Regions from separate parts of the Homo sapiens genome. Here region 1 is linked to region 2. Evidence: promoter capture Hi-C in 16 types of primary human blood cells and fetal thymus (Javierre and others, 2016). All regions are on one chromosome and are shown on one strand. The core of a region is centred on a gene start or on the middle of the fragment in contact, and the rest is flanking DNA. Distances in the headings are between cores, read along the strand shown.

Region 1 (5,176 bases), core at 1,236-3,735, 860 kb after region 2:
ACAGAATTTTCTTATTTTATTAAAGAAAAGAGAGTATACCATATCTTGTTTTTGGAATCTTGTTTTGTAGATGAAGATACTTTCAAAAAATTTCAACTGACACTGTTCATGAAGCTCCTTTCCAATATCTTTGAGATGCTTCAACATCTCAAAGATGTTAAATTATTTAAATTGTCATTACATTAGAAAGGTATTACACCAAGAATCAGTAATAAATTTTGCCAGAAAATAAGCCACAGGAAGTTTGAGTAAGTTTTTCACCCAATAAAATATCAATTTGTTTAATATCTGAGAATAACATTTAGTACTCAGGACAGATGTATATTACAAGCTATTGCTGTAACAAATTAAAAGTGACACCATTTGCAAAGGTACATTATAATCTTTAGCTATTCACCTTTTAAAAATGTTGTTTTCTTTTAAGTCAGACAGTACACATTATCTTGACTTCTTCTAACATTTAGCTTTCTATTTGTGATTTGCTTTCTTTCTCCCAACTTGCCCTGGGAATTTGTTTGACTAGTAATTCTCTTGTTCTTGCTCCTTCAGTTTCTCCTCCACTTGTTCCATCTCCTCAACCTACAGAAAATGTATTCCAATTCTAACAACCTAAAAAGAAAATAAAGCATTGGGCTGCTAAAATTACCATATTGCCATATTTTCGTTATCTTTTCTTTTCCTGACAATCCACAATCCTCTATGCTAACCTCGGTTCCTCCCTGCTCCTCAGGCACTCTACCTGAGTGTCTCCAGAGACTGTCACTCACTCACAAAATTGATAGGCTTTTATTTTCTACTTTTCGAATACTTCAGCTTTGGAAGGGAGCACATTATTATACTGACCATGCCTCCTCTTTCTTTCTATTACCACTAATATCTCTTGTAAGATTTAAATATCTGCACTTGAGGAATAAGACATTCTATTCTCAACCACATTAAGCTGAAATGTTACCCTGGTATAGCAACTCTACATAAGTTCCCCGTCCTATTTTTACCTAATTTTCCCTACCTGCCTTTACCTTCTTACATTTTCTTCCCTTTTTCATCATCTCTTTAAATATGCTTTTTTTTTTTTTTCTGTTCTTGGTCAAATTGTAATTCTCTTTCCGATCTGGTATTCAGTGGATGGAAATATTGGAATGTTAACATGAGCAGTGATGCGACATCTGCATCTCAGACTGGTGCACGGAAAAATAATCCCTGGCTGGCAAGAATTGTATGTAGGCTAACTGTGAGGATAAAATAATTGTCTACTGGGGGAGCACGGGCCATGCTTCTGTGGTCACTGCCCAAAGCTTATCCCAGTTGTAGGCTTCTCTGGGTGCACACAGATATTCAAGGAGCTCCAGGCCAAAGAATGAAGTTCAGCCGTAGTAGTTCACATGGCAGCAGTCATTTCAGGTTCCCAGCCCATTTAAGGGACATTAAGAGGTTGCAGGACCTTTGAGGGGATTCACAACCCAAGATTAGTATTTGGAGATCCAGGGTTGGAGTGCATTTTCAGTGGAGAACGAAACGCTGTATAGGTAAGTCAGAGGCCCAAATATAAGACCTAGGAGATCTACACTGAAGGCTTCCGAATAAGTGAGGGTTTTTCTGTTGTGCCTCCATTTCAAATGCCACTTTTTTATGTTTTTTGAGTATTGTGATAATCAATTCTTATTGTTCCTAGAATCAGACAGATACTGCTGTGTAAGCTCTGGTCCCTTAAGGGGCCATGGCCCAGAGTTCTGACTGGCTCATGGATTCTTAATATGCTTTATTGACTTATGATTTCTTCAACATCAGGGAAGGATAAGTGTCTCCTGGGAAAATAAAATTTTCACCAAGGATCTTGTTCTGTCCCTTCTCAATTCTAGTATTTCCTTTTGCTGTAGCAACCAATATACTTATTTATCAGGGAAACTTGCCCCAGGCCTTATCTACTTCGATATTTTATAAAGTCATTTGACTACAGACATCTAGCAACCCTCCATGTTAGGCTATGAAGATTGTAAGTTTCCTATATCTTACATTACATTAGAATGAAGGTGAAGAGTTGAGATGACAGGGCCCTTCTATTAATGCTCCATAATAATTATCTCTGCTATGTGTCTGAGAAGTGATTCCCACTGAATGGCCAATAGAAGTAACCAAGAACACTGGAAAGAGTCCAGGACTTGGATTCAGGTATTGGCTACTACTCCAAGCTCTACAAATAACTAAGTATGTGTAAGCATGGGCTACTAAGCCCATCTCTAGGCCTTGGATTTTATATCTCTTAGGATAAGGTTTAGCCACCAGATAGCTAAGATCATTCATTCAAAGTGTATATGTGCCAGATGAGATAGAACAATAAGGGAGTGTCATATGTAAAAGGAGAAAATACTTAGTAAACAGCTATAGACGCTGCAATGCATAAATGCTGCTGCATACGCTTACGTATATAGTATCCACTTAACCTATTATGTGTGCGTAAGGGGGTGGAATTGGGCAAGATGAAATTGTGGAATAATTCTTGGAAGAGGAGGTAAATGAGCTGCATCTAAAGGCTAAGAAAGAATAAACATGATGAAATGTGAATGAGAGTATTTCTCAGGTAGAAAGATCATCATTGCATGCAGTTGTATGGTGGGTAAAGCCTGCATAAAGTGATTATTTCTGGGGTACAGAGGATGGGGAAAAGTCAGTCTAAGTGGGCAAATAGGAGACCAATCCTGAAGAGCTATTCAGCCTTGCAAGTGGCTGGGCTTCATGCTGAAGGCCTTAGGAAGTTACTGGTGATCTAAAGAAGGAAATGGCAGCCAGGCGCGGTGGCTCACGCCTGTAATCCCAGCACTTTGGGAGGCCGAGGCGGGCGGATCACGAGGTCAGGAGATCAAGACCATCCTGGCTAACATGGTGAAAACCCGTCTCTACTAAAAATACAAAAAATTAGTTAGGCGTGGTGGCGGGCACCTGTAGTCCCAGCTACTCGGGAGGCTGAGGTAGGAGAATGGCATGAACCCGGGAGGCAGAGCTTGCAGTGAGCTGAGATCACGCCACTGCACTCCAGCCTGGGTGACAGAGCAAGACTCCATCTCAAAAAAAAAAAAAAAAAAAAAAAAAAGAAGGAAATGGCATGGTCAGACTTGTGGGGTTTTTGTTGTTGTCGTTGTTTTGTTTGTTTTTGTTTTTGAGACAGGGTCTCCCTCTGTCACCCAGGCTGGAGTGCAGTGGCATGATCTCAACTCACTGCAACCTCTGCCTCAAGTAATCTTCCCACCTCAGCCTCCCGAGTAGCTAGGACCACAGGCACACCACCACACCCAGCAAGTTTTGGTATTTTTAGTAGACACATGGTTTCGCCATGTTGTCCAGGCTGGTCTTGAACTCCTGAACTCAAGTGATCTGCCCAACTCAGCTTCCCAAAATGCTGGGATTACAGGCGTGAGCCACAGCTCCTGGCCCAGACTTGTGTTTTTGAAGATCCCTGTGGCTGCAGTGGCTGCCGGGGGGAGAATGAGTTTGAAGAAGCAAAGCTGCAGAGTAGGGAGACAGATAAGCGTGAGAAATTAGGAATGTCTGCAGTATATCAATAGAGTAGAATTAGGAAGAAGTGGGTGAATCTGAACCATACTGAGGAAGTAGAATCAACAGGTCATGAGAATTGTACTTTTTATTTCCATATATTGAAATAGTGTTTTGTATTGTCATGTAAGCTTTAGCTAATTAAAAAACCAAACATTTTCTAGGTCTAATTATGAAATCTTGAGAAATTTCAGTCATTTTTTGGAAAATTTGATGTTTTTACATAATATAACTTTCTTGCACTGATTTTTTTGGCTCTTAGTTCATTTCCGTTCCCATCAGTATGATTGTTAAATCCCTAGTCATTTATGCAGATATTATATATTTTGAATATTCTTAAACAAAATTCTACAAAGTCTAGGATTTTTCTAACTTAGGTTAATCTGTTTGTGCTTAATTGGGCTCCTACTATGTGCTTAGCATGCTCTTTTTACTTCTTAAAAAAGAAAAAAACAACTTTTTGATACTTTTTTGAAAAGTGGAGACAAACTTTTCCATCTTTAGGGCATAGTATCAGTAACTGATGCTTAGTGGGAACCAGAAATCCTCACCTGTTCATCGTATCTTCTCCCAGTGGAGTACCTTCCAAATTTATTTCTTCTTTTTCAATGGCAAATTAAACTCATCAAAACTGCCTTTTCAATTCTTTCTAACTGGAAACAAGCAGGAGCGTTCCAGCATTCTTTATCCTACACTGACATCTGGTGGCCAAACAAAGCATTAAGAAACACTCCTGTGGGTTCTTAGATCCCTGTAAACATACTACAATTTATATATGTAATACGGGCTCAAACCCAAGGGATGCAAATATGGACAGTGTGTAGTCATCCGTCAAAAAGTGTTTAGTCTACCTATGACAACCTTCTGAACACTAATGTTATGCAATGCAAGTCCAGCTAATTCTTAAAACCATCCCTACCTCTGGGATGGTGATAAAGATAGATGCAATACATGTGAGCTTATAGGAAGAGGAGTGCAAGGTAGGGTGGTGAGTCAAGGCTGGTTCTGCTGGGTGCTTGGGGACCAGGTTAGGCATCATCGTAGACAACATAGTCTTCACTGCTTCCTGAGCTATACCGCTTCACTTTCCAGAATCCATCTTTTCTGCCCAGAAATCTCTTTCCGGGTTATTGACACCTCTTGTATAGGTTATCGATACCTCTGATATTGCTTCTAAACAGCTTTTCTTTCCTAAGGTTTTATAAATCTAGGAGTATTTTCTGATAGAATCATTTACCTTTCAATTTTTTTACTTGCTTTAAGAAATATTCCAAAACAATTTACTTTTCTCTTGCGCATTTCAATCACTAAAGATCTCTAAAAATTGTTGAGCAAATAAAAGAATGAAATTTGAAGTACTTTTTTTTATAATTGCAATTTATATCTTGATTTTTTGGCCCCCTATCAGGTTTAATCAAAATTATTATATTTCCAATCTTGGGTTATTTCTTGAGGCAGCGAAAAATGTAAGAATCTGTTTTCTTCCTAGTGTGACTGATTTTTGCTTTTGAGAATATTGACAGATTCTTTAGGTCTGATTTCACCTTTATTTCAAGTTAGTACCAAATATAATAATGAATACTGATGTAATTGATTATGATATTCAAAATTGTCTAACATGTGATGG
Region 2 (4,979 bases), core at 2,468-4,967:
TCTACTATCCTGACACCTCCATGCTGTAAGATGTAAGAAGTTCAAGGCACAGGGCCACTGCATTGTAGTTCTCTTTAGCAGTCCCCTCTTTAGCAGAGATCTCTCAGATCAACTGCTAAGCATGTGTGTAATCATCTTCGAAGACCAGTCCATTTGATGCTTCATATGACTCCAGTTCCAGCCATTATATGCAACTGCATGATTTCCAAGGGAGAACCACCCAGACAATCCTAATCACCTCACAGAACCATGAGAAGTAATAACAAACTGTTTTATGCCACTAACCTTGGGATAGTTTTCTGTGTACCAATAGGAAATCAGAAGAGTAGATAATGGAGAAATCATCAGTAAAGTTTGAAGGGGAGAGTAATGATAAATTCATATTCATAACTGATCATTTTGAATAGGTAGGGACATAGAGTCAGGTAATAGAAGATAAACACCCATGTCTTCTGCTCCCACCATACATTCAAGTTTATCTGGAATTTGAGGACTGCTGGACAAAATTGAGTGAAGTTCATTCTCCTGTGTACAATTGGTATTATGGAGATTCAAAACGATCTACCAAGAGGAAGAGAGAAAGGGCCAAGCCCTTGACGATTAAAGTACCAGTTTCCAATTCTGATGGCCAGCTATTAAGATAGCCTCCAGGCACACCTCCGGCATTCATGGTTGGGCAAAATCATCTGAAAACACAGTACACTGTGGAGTATCAGCTGTTTACTTTCAAGATGGTATTGCCACCAGGGCAGTGCTTGCTGCCTATGCTGAGGCAACATGAGAGAGTACCGTACTGCATACTGCTAGCCCAGTAAAAGACCAGTATTCAAAATCTGATATAAGCCTTCTAGGGAATGCATATCACTTTCCCACCATGATACGGTAGAAAAATTATAAGTAGAACTATCATAAATCACAGACCATCTGTGTAGGGAAAAGTAACCTCTTCAGGATATTGAATCTGTCTCTCTAAAACATGATATATTTCTTCGTATATTAAAGTCTTCTTTAAAGTTTAAAAAGTTTTACATGGTCTTGACTATTTTTGTCGGATATATTTCTAGATCCTTTATATTTTTCTTCCTATTAAAAACAGTATCTTTCTTAAAAATACCCTTTCTAACTCTATTGTTGGAATACAAATGTTCATTTGGGATTTATATGTTGATCTCACATTCTTCTTGTTTACTAAATTTATCCATTAATTCTAACAACTAATTTGAAGAGTCTTCTGGGTTTTCTATGGAGACAGCATGTCATATGCAAATAGTGACAACTTAATTTACTTTTTCCCTGTTTAAATTTTTTTTTCTTTTCTAAGTGTACTTTCTATCACACGATATTGTTAAATAGAATCAATGAGGGTGGTACATTTGTATATTTCTGATTTTTTAAGGAAGTCTTGTCAGTAGTTTACTTTTGAGTCTCTATAGATTTCTTTACTGTGTTAAAGCTATTCCTGTCTAACTCTGGTTTTTAAGACTTTTTATCAGTTACTAATAGGTTTTGAATTTCACTTAACAATTTTGTTCTTTTAAAATGACTATATATTTTTTTCCCTTTTAACTTCTGAACTTGGAAATTGCATTAATAGTTCATCATAATAAACTATCATTACATTTCCAAGATTAACTCTTCTTTCTCTTCATTTATTATATAAAACAATGAATTCAATTTGTTTTGTGTTTTGTTCAGGAACTTTGCATCTGTGTTCTTGAGTCAGATTGTCCTTCAAATTTCTTTCTCACGATGGCCCTGAATTTTTCTTTTTCTCAAAATTTTCCACCAATATTTTAGATAAAAACCCAAAGACAATAGTGTTATGAATCATTATGTACCTACCACCAAGCAACAACTCTCATGACCTCAAGTCCTCTCTTGTTTTATCTGTCTCTCTCTTTCTTTATCTCTATCATGCTTGATTATTTTGAAGTAAATTCTGAATAACCATTTCATCTGTAAATATTGTGTTATGTATCTTAAATGATAAGGATACTTTAAATAATATTATTTCAATATTATAATTACATCTGAACATGATATAGTCCTTTAACATTATCAAATGCTCACTTTTACCCAATTGTTTTATAATTATATTTTTTATTTAATTTGTTCAAATCAAGATCCAAACATGGTTCACACATTTTATTTGATTGATATATTTTTCACATGTTAAGAGTGAGATGTTGTTTTATTTCCTTAAATTCACTTGCTGGGGAAATGTACTTATTTGTCCTGTAGAATTTCCCACCTTCTAAATTTTGCTGATGGTATTCCTGTGTTGTAATATAATACCATCCCCATGTCCTATATTTTCTGGAAATTGCCAGCTAGATGTTAACCAGAGATCTCAAACTGTTTTGATCTCAGGACCCTTTAACACTCTTAAAAAATATTGAGGACACTCGAAAAAAAATTTTGTTCATGTGAGCTATTGATATTTATAATAATATATAGTAAAAGAGAAAAGTTAAAAATATTCATTTACTAACTCACTTTGAACTTTTTTGAAAACATGTTAACAAAAGACCCATATGTCAGTAAGTGAAGTTTGTCTTGGTTTATTTTTCAAGTAAAAATGGTGTTCCATGAAATAGTGAACTAAAACTCAGTGTTACAAATTATTTCCCTCAAGACAACCATTATACTTTAGCATGTCAGCTTCCCATTTAGTCATACAGAATATTCCCTCTAGATGTATTCAAGGGTTGAGATTTACTGAAGCCAATTCACTACCCTGATTCATCAAGTTCAAGGGCATTTTCAAGTAAAAATGGCTTTATTTTGTTTCTTGCAAGTGCGTGGATATGAGCAATGCAATTTGGTGCCACTGCCTTGATTGATGTTAAGGCACCAGAACTTCTATCCACCATTTATTTTGCCTCATCAGTGCAAATGTCAACATAGCGAAAATGACGAATAACACTTTAGTATAATTATGAAAATTATAACTGCACAACCACTCCAAACAGGCCCTGAAGACCCCCATTGGTGTGTAGATCACAATCTAAGAACGCTACTCTGAGATATCAAACTGTCAGCGCAGAACTACAATAAACCAAGGAACTATCTCTTGGTCTTCTCACACAAAGGTAGCTGGAAGGCAAATCTATTTAACTGCTGTTCCATAAGACCCTGGCTTGCCTAATGACTCACAAGATTATTTCAAGCTTCTTTTACATCTTGCTGTGAAGTTGAAGTAGCAACACTGAACCAGTGCTGCTGCTTCTGGTTTCTATTGTTTCTTTATTTCGACTAATACATTGTCTTTGCCAACACATCTAATTTTAATGCCCACCCAATTTTTATTTATTAATTTATTTTAAATGTTACTAGATAAGGTATAAAGGAATTCATATGTATGCCTATAGAAGTGAGCTCCTGGCACGTTGATCAAAAACAAACTTTTGACATTTCTCATAACTATGTAATATCATAATATTTTCTAAACTATATAATACCAGGCTCACAAGACTGCCTTTATTCCCTTAAGTTTCTCAGAAGAAGATATCTGGAAGAGGGTGGGAAAAGTGCAAACTTCAACTGTTTGTGGGGAAAGTGCCGGCCTGCTACAGAGAAAAAGGCAACATCTGTAACAATTCCCAGCCTTTGCCAGGAAGAGTCTCCTCCCCTTGGCATAATCTTTTTGAACCAATGCCAAGCCCTCTCCATGACCCCTGTCCCGCCTACATATTGCCGTTATTCACTCCAGTGACCATCCCTGAGATCTTTTTATAAAAAACCCAGTCTTTGCTGACCAGACAAAGCATACCAGATCTCACCAGAGAGGTAAGTGGGAGCTGAGAGAAGATGAGACCTGTGGAAGGGCAACCTCACATAATACAGGAGAACGCATGGGAGGGTCCCTTCCTCAGGGAGCACAGGAGCTCTGAGACTCAGCAAGGCTGTACTGGGAGGTCTCAGGGATGGGTGAGTACACAGATTCACAGCTCATTCAGAACTGTAGAAGATGATGAATGTGACCAAGATCACTTCAGTCCTAGGGGACTACAGAAGGAAAAAGACAAGAGGCAGTAGGATATCTGTGTGTCCTCCCGCTGACCACACTTCCTTTAGTGACCCGATTGCCTCCTCAAGTCGCAGACACTATGCTGCCTCCCATGGCCCTGCCCAGTGTGTCCTGGATGCTGCTTTCCTGCCTCATTCTCCTGTGTCAGGTTCAAGGTGAGATTTCTCTGCCTCTAGCACTGGGTTCCCTATGAATCCTCAGAGCCAAGAAAAGGAGGAAGGCTCCTGTGTGTCACGTGAGGTAATGACGTGGTGTCTAATGAAACTGCCTGCAGTTCCTGCATCATCACTCCTTCCTTCATGTTAACTTGCAGTGGGAGGCTCCACTGTGGTCCACTAACAATGGAATGAGATGGCTTCCATTTAGTCAGTGGACTCTAATATACACTGGTGGGAAAGTGTGGAGGGTCAGCAATGAGATGTGGGGAGGGACAATGATTGGAGGACCCAATATAGAGATAGCCCACAGTGAAGAGAGTGTTGAATGGTTGAATAAGGGGAAAGGGTAATAACAGACTAGATGGTGGCCCATTTAGTAGGGCTATTTTGAGATAAAGAACTTCTGAAAACACAAGGGAAGATGAAGAGCTGTCAGGAATGTGGTCTTCCTCCCCAAGGGCAGACCTAGATATTCCCCAAGGTCATCTCCCACCCACCCCCTACTCTTCATTTTACTCTCTCCCTTTTCTTCCACCCCAGGTGAAGAAACCCAGAAGGAACTGCCCTCTCCACGGATCAGCTGTCCCAAAGGCTCCAAGGCCTATGGCTCCCCCTGCTATGCCTTGTTTTTGTCACCAAAATCCTGGATGGATGCAGATGTGAGTGGTTAGATGTGGGGTTGGAGGTGATAGGGGAAAGTCCATGCAGGTCTCAGGGGGAGGAGGGTCTCCTTCAGGAGAGTTCCTTGGGAATGAGGATGAACACGCTTATCTTTCACACAGTCCTCCTCC

Evidence for each region. Contacts are between HindIII fragments. The CHiCAGO score rates a contact against its expected background, and 5 or more counts as called.
Region 1: a fragment that was not itself captured here is called in contact with the fragment with the promoter of REG3G in region 2 in 1 of 17 cell types (M1 macrophages); the score reaches 5.5 in M1 macrophages.

Annotation. Positions count from the first base shown.
Region 1 is chr2:79,883,689-79,888,864 of GRCh38, forward strand. The region is part of intron 6 of CTNNA2 (catenin alpha 2); the gene reads left to right. Among named protein-coding and RNA genes, the nearest start is that of MIR8080, 20 kb to the left of the region's middle. The HindIII fragment of the contact is 2,385 bases long and covers 1,294-3,678 here.
Region 2 is chr2:79,021,985-79,026,963 of GRCh38, forward strand. It overlaps REG3G (regenerating family member 3 gamma), which reads left to right and starts at 3,718. Exons shown (of 6, transcript NM_001008387.3): 1 at 3,718-3,789; 2 at 3,999-4,185; 3 at 4,729-4,847. The coding sequence starts at 4,110. The HindIII fragment of the contact is 2,965 bases long and covers 3,169-4,979 here.